Regions from separate parts of the Homo sapiens genome. Here regions 1, 2 and 3 are each linked to region 4. Evidence: promoter capture Hi-C in 16 types of primary human blood cells and fetal thymus (Javierre and others, 2016). All regions are on one chromosome and are shown on one strand. The core of a region is centred on a gene start or on the middle of the fragment in contact, and the rest is flanking DNA. Distances in the headings are between cores, read along the strand shown.

Region 1 (3,140 bases), core at 416-2,915, 70 kb before region 4:
ATGCCTGGCTAACTTTTTGTATTTATTTTTTTGAGACGGAGTCTCGCTCTGTCGCCCAGGCTGGAGTGCAGTGGCGCGATCTTGGCTCACTGCAAGCTCCGTCTCCTGGGTTCACACCATTCTTCTGCCTCAGCCTCCAGAGTAGCTGAGACTACAGTTGCCCGCCACCATGCCTGGCTAATTTTTTTTGTATTTTTAGTAGAGACGTGGTTTTACCATATTGGCCAGGCTGGTCTCGAACTCCTGACCCTGTGATCCACCCACCTCGGCCTCCCAAAGTGCTGGGATTACAGGCGTGAGCCACCAAGCCTGGCTGGAAATTTTTTTTTTTTTTTTTTTTTGAGACGGAGTCTCACTCTGTTGCCCGGGCTGGAGTGCAGTGGCACGATCTCGGCTCACTGCAACCTCCGCCTCCCAGGTTGAAGCAATCCTCCTGCCTCAGCCCCCCCAGTAGCTGGGATTACAGGCACCCACCATCACCCCCAGCTAATTTTTGTATTTTTAGTAGAGACGGGGTTTTGCTGTGTTGGTCAGGCTAGTCTCAAACTCCTGACCTCAGGTGATCCACCCACCTCGGCCTCCCAAAGTGCTGGGATTATAGGTGTGAGCCACCATGCCTGGCCAGAAATTTTTTTTTTTTTTTTTGAGATGGAGTTTCACCCTTATTGGCCAGGCTGGAGTAAAAGGGCACGATCTCGGCTCACTGCAACCTCTGCCTCCCAGGTTCAAGTGAGTCTCCTGCCTCAGCCTCCCTAGCTGGGATTACAGGCATGTACCACCATGCCTGGCTAATTTTGTATTTTTAGTAGAGACAGGGTTTCAACATGTTGGTCAGGCTGGTCTGGAACTCCTGACAGGTGATCCACCTGCCTCTGCCTTCCAAAGTGCTGGGATTAGAGGCGTGAACCACTGAGGCCTGCCAAAACATTTTTTATTTTAAAAAAATGACATCATCAAGGCAAGTAGCACCAAACTTTCAAAGTACAGATCATATTAATTTTATACACACTATTGCAGAAAATAGGAAGAGAGAGCACCCCTTAACTTATTCTATGGGGCCAGAATCACCTTGATAACAAAATCAGCAAAGGGCAATAATGTAAAGGGAAATTTTAGTCCCATCTAATCAGGAGGCTGAGGTGGGAGGACCACTCAAGCTAGCAATTCAAGATCAGCCTGGGCAACACAGCAAGACCCTGTCTCAAAAAAAAAAAAAAAAAAAAAAAAAAAGGAAAGAAAAAGAATGAAAGGAAAATTGCCCAGCACAGTGGCTCACACTTGTAATCCCAGCACTTTGGGAGGCCAAGGCAGGGGGATCACCCATCAGGAGTTCGAGACCAGCCTGACCAGCATGTTGAAACTCCATCTCTACTAAAAATATAAAATTAGCCAGGCATGGTGGTGCATGATCACTCCTGATCACGAGGTCAAGAGTTTGAGACCAGCCTAACCAATATTATGAAACCCCCCTATCTCCACTAAAAACGTAAAAATGGCTGGGCGTGGTGGCTCACACCTATAATCCCAACACTTTGGGAGGCCAAGACGGGTGGATCACCTGAGGTCAGGGGTTCCAGACCAGGCTGGCCAACATGGCAAAACCCTGTCTCTACTAAAAATACAAAAACTTAGCCTGGCATGGTGGCACACACCTGTAATCCAGCTACTTGGGAGACTGAGGAAGAATTCCTTGAACCCAGAAAGACAAGGCTGCAGTGAACTGAGATCACACCATTGCAATCCAGCCTAGGCAACAAGAGCAAAACTCCGTCTCAAAGAAAAAAAAAAAAATTAGCCAGGTGTGGTGGTGTGTCCAGAATTGGTGGGTTCTTGGTCTCACTGACTTCAAGAGTAAAGTAGCAGACCCTCGTGGTGAGTGTTATAGCTCTTAAGGTGGTGTCTCTGGAGTCTGTCCCTTCTGATGTTCAGATGCCTTTGGAGTTTTTTCCTTCTGGTGGGTTCATGGTCTCGCTGGCTCAGGAACGAAGCTGCAGATCTTCCCGGAGAGTATTCCAGCTCATAAAAGCACCATGGACTCAAAAAGTGAGCAATAGCAAGATTTATCGCAAAAAGTAAAAAAACAAAGATTCCCCACCGTGTAAGGAGACTAGAGCAGGTTACTAATGCTGGCTGGGGCAGCCTGCTTTTATTCTCTTATCTGGCCCCACCCACATCCTGCTGATTGGTAGAGCCGAGTGGCCTGTTTTGTCAGGGCGCTGATTGGTGCGTTTACAATCCCTGAGCTAGATACAAAGGTTCTCCACGTCCCCATCAGATTAGTTAGATACAGAGTTTCCACACACAGGTTCTCCAAGGCCCCACCAGAGCAGCTAGATACAGAGTGTTGATTGGTGCATTCACAAACCTTGAGTTAAACACAGGGTGCTGATTGGTGTGTTTACAAACCTTGAGCTAGATAGAGTGCCGATTGGTGTATTTACAATCCCTGAGCTAGACATAAAAGTTCTTCACGTCCTCACCAGAGCAGCTAGATACAGAGTGTCGATTGGTGCATTCACAAACCTTGAGCTAAACACAGGGTGCTGATTGGTGTATTTACAATCCCTGAGCTAGATATAAAGACTCTCCACGTCCCCACCAGACTCAGGAGCCCAGCTGGCTTCACCTAGTGGATCCCGCACCGAGACTGCAGGTGGAGCTGCCTGCCAGTCCCGCGCTGTGCGCTCGCATTCCTCAGCCCTTGGGTGGTCGATGGGACTGGGCGCCGTGGACAGGGGGCGGCGCTCGTCGGGGAGGCTCGGGCTGCACAGGAGCCCATGGAGGGGGTGGGAGGCTCAGGCATGGCGGGCTGCAGGTCCCGAGCCCTGCCCCGCGGGAAGGCAGCTAAGGCCCGGCGAGAAATCGAGCGCAGCGCCGGTGGGCTAGCACTGCTGGGGGACTCAGTACACCCTCCGCAGCCACTGGCCCGGGTGCTAAGTCCCCCATTGCCCGGGGCTGGCAGGGCTGGCCGGCTCCTCCGAGTGCAGGGCGCACCAAGCCCACACCCACCCGGAACTCCAGCTGGCCCGCAAGCGCCCCACGCAGCCCCGGTTCCCGCTCATGCCTCTCCCTCCACACCTCCCTGCAAGCTGAGGGAGTGGGCTCCAGCCTTGGCCAGCCCAGAAAGGGGCTCCCACAGT
Region 2 (2,941 bases), core at 180-2,679, 130 kb after region 4:
ATTTCCCCTGGATTCCTCAGGATCCGACATATTGGGTTTATTTTTACAGACAGTCTGTCCTGTGACCATGTTTCCTGTAGACTCCCGGGGATTCTTTTCTTGTGTGGAAGCTGCTGGGCCTAAGGAGTTAGAGAAGTACAGGATGGTTTCGTTCAAGGGGATACAGGGGAATCCAACAGCTGTCAACATTCCTGGATATTTACTTATTTATTTTCCTTCTTCTTTTCTTTTGAGATGGGGTCTCACTCTGTTGCCTAGGCTGTGCAGTGGCAATGATCACCGCTCACTGCAGCCTCAACTTCCCCGGGCTAAGGTGATTCTCTCACTTCAGCTCCTGAGCAGTTGGGACTACAGGTGCGTGCCACCGCACCTGGCTAATTTTTTTTTGGTATCCCTTGTAGAGATGGGGGTTTCGTCATGTTGCTCAGGCTGATTTTCAACTCCTGGGCTCAAGCAATCCTCCTGCCTTGGCCTCCCAAAGTGTTAGGATTACAGGCATAAGCCACGACATCTGGCCCTGGATATCTCTTTTCACAATGTGAAGATATGAAATTAAAACTTACTCTAAAATATCTAAATTTCTCAAAAACCATACCTAAAGACCGCTATGGTCTGGACAGTCACCCTGTGACTATCAATCTTAGGCCCGTGGGCTGCTTCCATTCCAGAGCAAAAGTAATGCCAATTCATCTCTGGGCTCTTCAGCACCAGGTTCTGTTAACCAGGCCAATGATGGCATAAAGTTAATGCTCAGTAAATACCAGTTGACATGTGTTATTTATTGACTGAAGAAGGAAAATGATTACCTTTGAAGATAAGTCCTAAGATATTCAAGAGCCTGGTCTCCTCTGACTCCTCTGGGTCTATATGACTGAAGGGTTCGGACTCCTGGAAGTGGCCTGTGGCTTCTCGAGTGAGAATGATGGCCTTTCTGAAAGAACACCAGCCTGTCAGTACCCAGAAGAATGTCACTGCAGCCGTTTGTAAGGGAGCTTACCTCATGATTCTATCAAGTCCCTGGACCTACTGCCCAGAGAAAAGGAGCACTTAACATGCTTAAAAAGTTGTTACAGCACCTACTAAGGGGTAGGGCTCAAAACACTTTGCCTATTTTTTTCCCCTGACTGCTCATCTGCAAACACTTTTCCTATTTCTGAACCTACAAGGCATTACTACAGTCTTCAAAAAAACTCCAATAAGGCTTTTTAAAGTTTTAAAATCATAAACCTACTCCAAACACCTGTTTAAAAACTTTCCTAAGTTTAGAAACAATAAACTTTCAATAATTAGTTAATTCAGGCACATCCAGACAATAAGATTCTATGTAGTCATAAAAAATAATGGGGACACGTGAGCCCAGGAATTTGAGATCAGTCTGGGCAACACAGGGAGACCCAACTATACAAAAAGTAAAAAAAGTTAGCCGGGTGTGATGGTGTGTGCCTGTGGGTGTGATGGTGTATGCCTGTGGGTGTGATGGTGTGTGCCTGTGGGTGTGATGGTGTGTGCCTGTGGGTGTAATGGTGTGTGCCTGTGGTCTCAGCTACTCGAGGGAGCTGAGGTGGGAGGATCACTTGAGCCTGGGAGATCAAAGCTGCAGTGAGTTGTGATCATACCACTGTACTCCAGCATGGGCAAAAGAGTGAGACACTCTCTCTCTCAAAAAAAGAGGAGAGTGGGAAACTATTTATGTATAAATATATATGTGTATATATATATATATATTTTTTTTTTTAGAGACAGAGTCTTGTTCTGTCACCCAGGCTGAAGTGTAGTGGCATGATCTTGGCTCACTATAACCTCTGCTTCCTAGGTTTGAGTGATTCTCATGCCTCAGCTCCCCAAATAGCTAGGATTACAGGTACGTGCCACCATACCTGGCCAATTTTTGTAATTTTAGCAGAGATGGGTTTCGCCATTTCGCCACGTTGGCCAGGCTGGCCTCAAACTCCTGGCCTCAAGAGATCCACCAGCTTTGGGCTCCCAAGGTGCTGGGATTACAGGTGTGAGCCACTGCACCTGGCCATCTATAAATTTTTTTTTTTTTTTGAGATGGACTCTTCCTCTGTCACCCAGGGTAGAGTGTAGCGGAGCAATCTCAGCTCACTGCAACCTCTGCTTCCTGGGTTCAAGCAATTCTCCTGCCTCAGCCTCCCAAGTAGCTGGGATTACAGGCATGAGCCATTGCACCCAGCCATAAATATTTTTAAAAACCACTGAGACACATAGTTAAGTGAAAAAAACAAGATGGTAGATCAGTGGGCAGAGAATTCTATCAGTCATATAAAAGGGGGAAAAAAAGAATACATGTTTGACTGCTTGTCTACATGTTATCTTCTTGCCACGTTGCCCAGGCTGGCAAAGGCCAGGCCTGGTGGTGTGTACCTGTAATCCCAGCTACAAATTATAAATAAATTAACCAGGCTACTCAGGAGGCTAATGTGGGAGATCGCTTGAGCCCAGCAGGGTTGAGGCTACAGTGAGAGGCTGCAGTGAGCTGTGATTGCGCTACTGTACTCCAGCCTGGGCAACAGTGAGATTCTGTCTCAAAAACAAACAATCCTTTTCTAATTGACAGGAGAAAATACTAGAATGCTTGGTGGAACATGCACTTATAAAACTATAGTCTCTATTTTTGCTTTAGCAAAATAAAAAGAGAGACACTAAAGTAACATAAGGGAGTCATAGGGCAAACAAGCCACTCTCTAGCCTTCTAAAAACAGCCCAAGCCGGGCACGGTGGCTCAAGCCTGTAATCCCAGCACTTTGGGAGGCCGAGGCAGGCGGATCACGAGGTCAGGAGATTGAGACCATCCTGGCTAACACGGTGAAACCCCGTCTCTACTAAAAATATAAAAAAAAAAATTAGCCGGGCGTGGTGGCGGGCGCCTGTAGTCCCAGCTACTCGGGAGGCTGAGGCAGGAGAATGGCGTGAACCCAGG
Region 3 (2,846 bases), core at 25-2,524, 93 kb before region 4:
GGCGTGAGCCACAGTGGCCGGCCTGCTTTGTGCATTTTAAAGCGCTTTAGTTAAATGCATAGACATTTAGAATTATTGTATCTACTTGGAAAACCAAATATCTTATTATGTAATGTCTTTTTTGTTTTGTTTTGTTTTTTTTGAGACAGAGTCTCGCTCTGTCACCCAGGCTGGAGTGCAGTGGCATGATCTCGGCTCACTGCAACCTCTGCCTCCCAGGTTCAAGTGATCCTCCTGCCTCAGCCTTCTAAGTAGCTGGGATTACACGCCTGGCTAATTTTTTTGTATTTTTAGTATTGATGGGGGTTACACCATGTTGGCCAGGCTGGTCTGGAACTCCTGACTTCGTGATCTGCCCACCTCGGCCTCCTAAAGTGCTGGGATTACAAGCTTAAGCCACCAAGCCCAGCCAATGTCCCTCTTTATCTCTGGTAATTTTCTTTGCTCTGAAGTTTAGTTAACTGTTACTACAGCCATTTTCAACTTTCTTTTGGTTAGTGTTCATGGTACGTGTTTCTCCATCTTTTTACTTTTAACCGACCTATGTCATACTTAAAAGTATTTGTTTTCTTTTTTAAGACACTGTATTTCTGGGTCTTTTAAAAAAATTATTTTGGCCGGGCGCGGTGGTTACGCCTGTAATCCCAGCATTTTGTGAGGCCGGGGTAGGCAGATCACGAGGTCAGGAGATCGAGACCATCCTGGTTAACACAGTGAAACCCCATCTCCACTAAAAATACAAAAAAAATTAGGAAGGCGTGGTGATGGGCGCCTGTAGTCCCAGCTACTCGGGAGGCTGAGGCAGGAGAATGGCGCGAACCGGGGAGGCGGAGGTTGCAGTGAGCCGAGATCGCACTACTGCACTCCAGCCTGGCAACAGAGTGAGACTCTGTCTCAAAAAAAAGAAAAAAATTATTTTGATATTTTTTTAAAATAGAGATGGGGTCTCTATTCACTGTGTTGCACAGGCTAGTGTCAAAATCATGGGCTCAAGTGATCCTCACGCCTCAGCCTCCCAAAGTGCTGGAGTTAAGAAGTGAGTCTTTTTTTTTTTTCTTTTTTTTTTTTTTTTGAGACAGGGTCTCACTCTGTTACCCAGGCTGCAGTGCAGTGGCACAGTTACAGCTCACTGCAGCCTTAACTTCTCAGGCTCAAGCAATCCTCCCAACTCAGCCTCCCAAGTAGCTGGAACTACAGATGTATACCACCAGCCTATCCGTCTTTTAATTGTAGTTAGGCCATTTAAATTTAATATAATTGCCCAGGTGTGGTGACTCACACCTGTAATCCCAGCACTTTGGGAGGCCAAGGCGGGAGGATTGCCTGAGGTCAGGAGTTCGAGACTGTCCTGGCCAACATGGTGAAACCCTGTCTCTACTAAAAATACAAAAATCAGCTGGGCTTGGTGCATATGCCTGTAATCCCAGCTACTCGGGAGGCTGAGGCAGGAGAATAGCTTGAACCTGGGAGGCAGAGGTTGTAGCAAGCTGAGATCGCGCCACTGCGCTCCAGCCTGGGCGACAAGAGTGAGACTCCATCTCAAAAAAATAAATAAATAAAAATAAAAAATTAATATAATTAGTATGTTTGCATTTATCTCTTTTTTTTTCTTTGTTTCTTTCTTTCTTTTTTTTTTTTTGAGACAGAGTCTCACTCTGTTGCCCAGGCTTCAGTGCAGTGGCACGGTCTCGGCCCACTGCAAGCTCCGCCTCCCGGGTTCATGCCATTCTCCTGCCTCAGCCTCCCAAGTGACTGGGACTACAGGTGCCCGCCACCACGCCCGGCTAATTTTTTTGTATTTTTAGTAGAGATGGGGTTTCACCATGTTAGCCAGGACGGTCTCGATCTCGTGATCCACCTGCCTCGGCTTCCCAAAGTGCTGAGATTACAGGTGTGAGCCACCGCGCCCGGCAATATTTCTATTATTTATTATTTATTTTGTTTGTTCTGTTTGTAATTTCTCTGTCTCCATTTTCCAGCCTTGTATTGGTTTACTTGAATGTTATTTAGTATTCCATTTTAATTTATGTACAGATTTTTTTCACCCAGTAAATCTCTGTATCATTTTCTTTTCTTTTTCTTCATTTTTTGAGTCGGAGTCTCGCTCTGTCGCCCAGGCTGGAGTGCAGTGGTGTGATCTCGGCTCTCTGGAAGCTTCGCCTCCTGAGTTCACGCCATTCTCCTGCCTCAGCCTCCCGAGTAGCTGGAACTACAGGAGCCCGCCACCACGCCCGGCTATTTTTTTGTATTTTTAGTAGAGACGCGTTTTCACCGTGTTAGCCAGGATGGTCTTGATCTCCTGACCTCGTGATCCGCCCGCCTCGACCTCCCAAAGTGCTGGGATTACAGGCTTGAACCACCGCGCCCGGCTTTTTGTTTTGTTTTTTGTTTTTGAAACGGAGTCTTGCTCTGTCGCCCAGGCTGGAGTGCAGAGGCGCGATCTCGGCTCTCTGCAAACTTAGGCTCACTGCAACCTCCGCCTCCCGGGCTCAAGTGATTCTCCTGCCTCAGCCTGCCGATTAGCTGGGACTACAGGCGCCCACCACCATGCCCAGCGAATTTTTTTTTTTTTTTTTTTTTTGAGACAGAGTCTCGCTCCTGTCGCCCAGGCTGGAGTGCAGTGGCGCGATCTTGGCTCACTGCAAGCTCCGCCTGCCGCGTTCACGCCATTCTCCTGCCTCAGCCTCCCAAGTAGCTGGGACTACAGGCGCCCGCCACCACGCCCGGCTAATTTTTTTTTTTTTTTTTTTTTTTGTATTTTTAGTAGAGACGGGGTTTCACCGTGTTAGCCAGGATGGTCTCGATCTCCTGACCTCGTGATCTGCCCGCCTCCGCCTCCCAAAGTG
Region 4 (2,998 bases), core at 453-2,952:
GACCTCGTGATCTGCCTGCCTTGGTCTCCCAAAGTGCTAGGATTACAGGCATGAGCCATCGCACCGGCCAAGTTTCACCATTTTGGCCAGGCTGGTCTCAAACTCCTGGCCTCAAGAGATCCACCCTCCTTGGCCTCCCAAAGTGCTGGAATTCCAGGAATGAGCCACAGTGCCTGGTCTCTATTTTATTAATTTATTTTATTTTATTTTATTTTTGAGACAGGGTCTCACTTTGTCACCCAGGCTGGAGCACAGTGGTGAGATCTCAGCTCACTGCAGCCTTGACCTCTGAAGACTCAGGTGATCCTCCTACCTCAGCCTCCCCAAGTAGTAAGTGGGACAACAGGCGCACACCACCACACCTGACAATTTTTGTATTTTTTGTAGAGACAGGGTTTCGCCATGTTGCCCAGGCTGGTCTGGAACTCCTGGGCTCAAGGAATCCACCCGCCTTGACTTCCCAAATGCTGGGATTACAGGCGTGAGCCACCAAGTCTGGCCCAAGACAATTTCTTGTTTTATTTTTCTTTTTTACTTTTGCTTTTGGGTGGGGACAGGGTCTCACTTTGTCACCCAGGCTGGAGAGCAGTGGCCCGATTGCACCTCACTGCAGCCTTGGCCTCATGGGCTCAAGCGATCCTCCCATCTCAGCCCCCCAAGAAACTGGGACTACAGGCACGTGCCACCACGCTTGGCTAATTTTTTGTACTTTTTGTAGAGACGAGGTTTCGCCCTGTTGCCCAGGCTGGAATTTCTCATTTTAAACACAAAACAGATACAAAAGCAAAAGTTCTCCTCCCATACCTCAGTGGACTGTCTTACTCGATTCTCCCTTGGAAACCACTTTCGTAGACCACTGAGCCACCCTCTTGTTTTCCCCTTGGACCCATTTTGCTCATGGAGGCGCCCTGTCTAGTTCCTACCCAGATAGGCCTTGACTTGGTTTTGCACATTCTATCTCTGCCTGCGCTTAGCTCTAGACCTCACGACCTGTTTGTTGGGCGAGTTGCTTCCCTAAGCCCCGATTTCTCATCTGTAAAACGAATGATAGTGTATCTACCTTATGGGATTCCTATGGCAATTACGTAAGGTAGTGCATGTAAAGATGCTAAGTGGCTGGCTACGGTGGCTCACACCTGTAATCCCAGCACTTTGGGAGGCCGAGGTGGGCAGATCATTTGAAGTCAGGAGTTCAAGACCAGCCTGGCCAACATGGTGAAACCCAGTCTCTACTAAAAATACAAAAATTAGGCCGGGCATGGTGGCTCACGCCTGTAATCCCAGCACTTTGGGAGGCCGAGGTGGGCGGATCACAAGGTCAAGAGATCGAGACCATCTGGCCAGCATGGTGAAATACCATCTCTACTAAAAATACAAAAATTAGCTGGGCGTGGTGGCGTGCACCTATAGTCCCAGCTACTCGGGAGGCTGAGGCAGGAGAATCACTTGAACCTGGGACGCCGAGGTTGTAGTGAGCCGAGATCGCACCACTGCACTCCAGCCTGGGCGACAGAGTAGGACTCCGTCTCAAAAAAAAAAGAAAAAGACGCTAAGTGAAGGTAGCTGTTTGCCATTCCTACCATCTGGATGGGCTCTGGCCACTTTAGGGCCCTGAGAGCCCGGCTGTCGAGGCCCCGCCCCGGCCCGCTCTTTGTGACGCGTGGGCGGTGCCCGCGTGCGCCCCGCCCCGCGCCTGCGGCTCTCTCTGCGGCTTGGCCCGTTAGAGGCGGCTTGTGTCCACGGGACGCGGGCGGATCTTCTCCGGCCATGAGGAAGCCAGCCGCTGGCTTCCTTCCCTCACTCCTGAAGGGTGAGAGGTTTACACCTGCTCCAACAGACTCTCCCCGGGCTAGTCCTCTCCCTCCCGAGAGCTCTGCTTTTACGGTTTCTGGATCGCTTCCTCATGGTGGTCGCGCTGGGTCGGCTCCCTAGGTCCTGGGATACTCCCATCTCCCCCCGCCCGCGGCCGGACCTTTGCCTCTGTCTCTAGACTCCCCCCGCCCTGGTCAGCAGGGATAACCCTCACCCCGTTCCTAATTTGCCAGTCTGGGTCTGTCTGTCCTGGTCTCGGAGCGGGTTTTGGGGTTCGGTCCTTCCATCATCCGTTCGCCCGCTCCGCAGTGCTGCTCCTGCCTCTGGCACCTGCCGCAGCCCAGGATTCGACTCAGGCCTCCACTCCAGGCAGCCCTCTCTCTCCTACCGAATACGAACGCTTCTTCGCACTGCTGACTCCAACCTGGAAGGCAGAGACTACCTGCCGTCTCCGTGCAACCCACGGCTGCCGGAATCCCACACTCGTCCAGCTGGACCAATATGAAAACCACGGCTTAGTGCCCGATGGTGAGGGCCAGACTAGGGGGGAAACCGAGGCACCCAGAGTGTTCACCCAAACCTCAGGGCAAAAACCCCTGTGCTCATGTGAGGCGGGGAAGGGCATGGCTGGCACCACACCATGAGCTCGTACTCTCCACCCTCCCCATGGCGTGGAGTCCATTGCCCACAGCCCCACCCCAAGCTCCCCACGGGTTCATCTTCTCCACCCCTGCCCTTTCTCAGGTGCTGTCTGCTCCAACCTCCCTTATGCCTCCTGGTTTGAGTCTTTCTGCCAGTTCACTCACTACCGTTGCTCCAACCACGTCTACTATGCCAAGGTGAGGCCCAGGACAAAGGTTGGATTTGGTGCCCCAGGGCCAAGGGAGAGGCGGCAGCAGTGGGGAGTTGAGGAAGGGTTCCAGGAGAGTCATCCTTAGCTCCTCCTTCCCTGCCATTTTGCCAGTCATTTACCCAGATTATATATGAATACAGTCTCACCTTGGATATTCAGATTGAACAATTCTGTTACTGCAAGAAAAGTAGAGAAGAGACTGGGCATGGTGGCTCATGCCTGTAATCTCAGCACTTTGGGAGCCCGAGATGGGCAGATCACCTGAAGTCAGGAGTTCGAGACCAGCCTGGCCAACATGGTGAAACCCCGTTTCTACTAAAAATACAAAAAAAA

What was found. The method cuts DNA at HindIII sites, captures the fragments that hold promoters and counts their contacts. A CHiCAGO score of 5 or more calls a contact.
Region 1: a contact is called between a fragment that was not itself captured here and the fragment with the promoter of ACRBP in region 4, in 3 of 17 cell types (non-activated CD4 T cells, activated CD4 T cells and naive CD8 T cells). The highest score is 6.4, in non-activated CD4 T cells.
Region 2: a contact is called between a fragment that was not itself captured here and the fragment with the promoter of ACRBP in region 4, in 3 of 17 cell types (non-activated CD4 T cells, total CD4 T cells and activated CD4 T cells). The highest score is 8.0, in non-activated CD4 T cells.
Region 3: a contact is called between a fragment that was not itself captured here and the fragment with the promoter of ACRBP in region 4, in 10 of 17 cell types (activated CD4 T cells, naive CD4 T cells, naive B cells and 7 more). The highest score is 11.5, in activated CD4 T cells.

Annotation. Positions count from the first base shown.
Region 1 is chr12:6,715,966-6,719,105 of GRCh38, reverse strand. No RefSeq gene overlaps it. Among named protein-coding and RNA genes, the nearest start is that of COPS7A, 6.5 kb to the left of the region's middle. The HindIII fragment of the contact is 9,962 bases long and covers 1-3,140 here.
Region 2 is chr12:6,518,976-6,521,916 of GRCh38, reverse strand. NCAPD2 (non-SMC condensin I complex subunit D2) reads right to left here. Exons shown (of 32, transcript NM_014865.4): 14 at 807-931; 15 at 1-119. Among named protein-coding and RNA genes, the nearest start is that of GAPDH-DT, 14 kb to the left of the region's middle. The HindIII fragment of the contact is 7,418 bases long and covers 1-2,941 here.
Region 3 is chr12:6,738,849-6,741,694 of GRCh38, reverse strand. No RefSeq gene overlaps it. Among named protein-coding and RNA genes, the nearest start is that of MLF2, 13 kb to the left of the region's middle. The HindIII fragment of the contact is 1,764 bases long and covers 393-2,156 here.
Region 4 is chr12:6,646,136-6,649,133 of GRCh38, reverse strand. ACRBP (acrosin binding protein) reads left to right here and starts at 1,702. Exons shown (of 10, transcript NM_032489.3): 1 at 1,702-1,810; 2 at 2,122-2,340; 3 at 2,557-2,651. The coding sequence starts at 1,768. RefSeq lists enhancers at 1,775-1,844, 1,768-2,281. The HindIII fragment of the contact is 16,958 bases long and covers 1-2,998 here.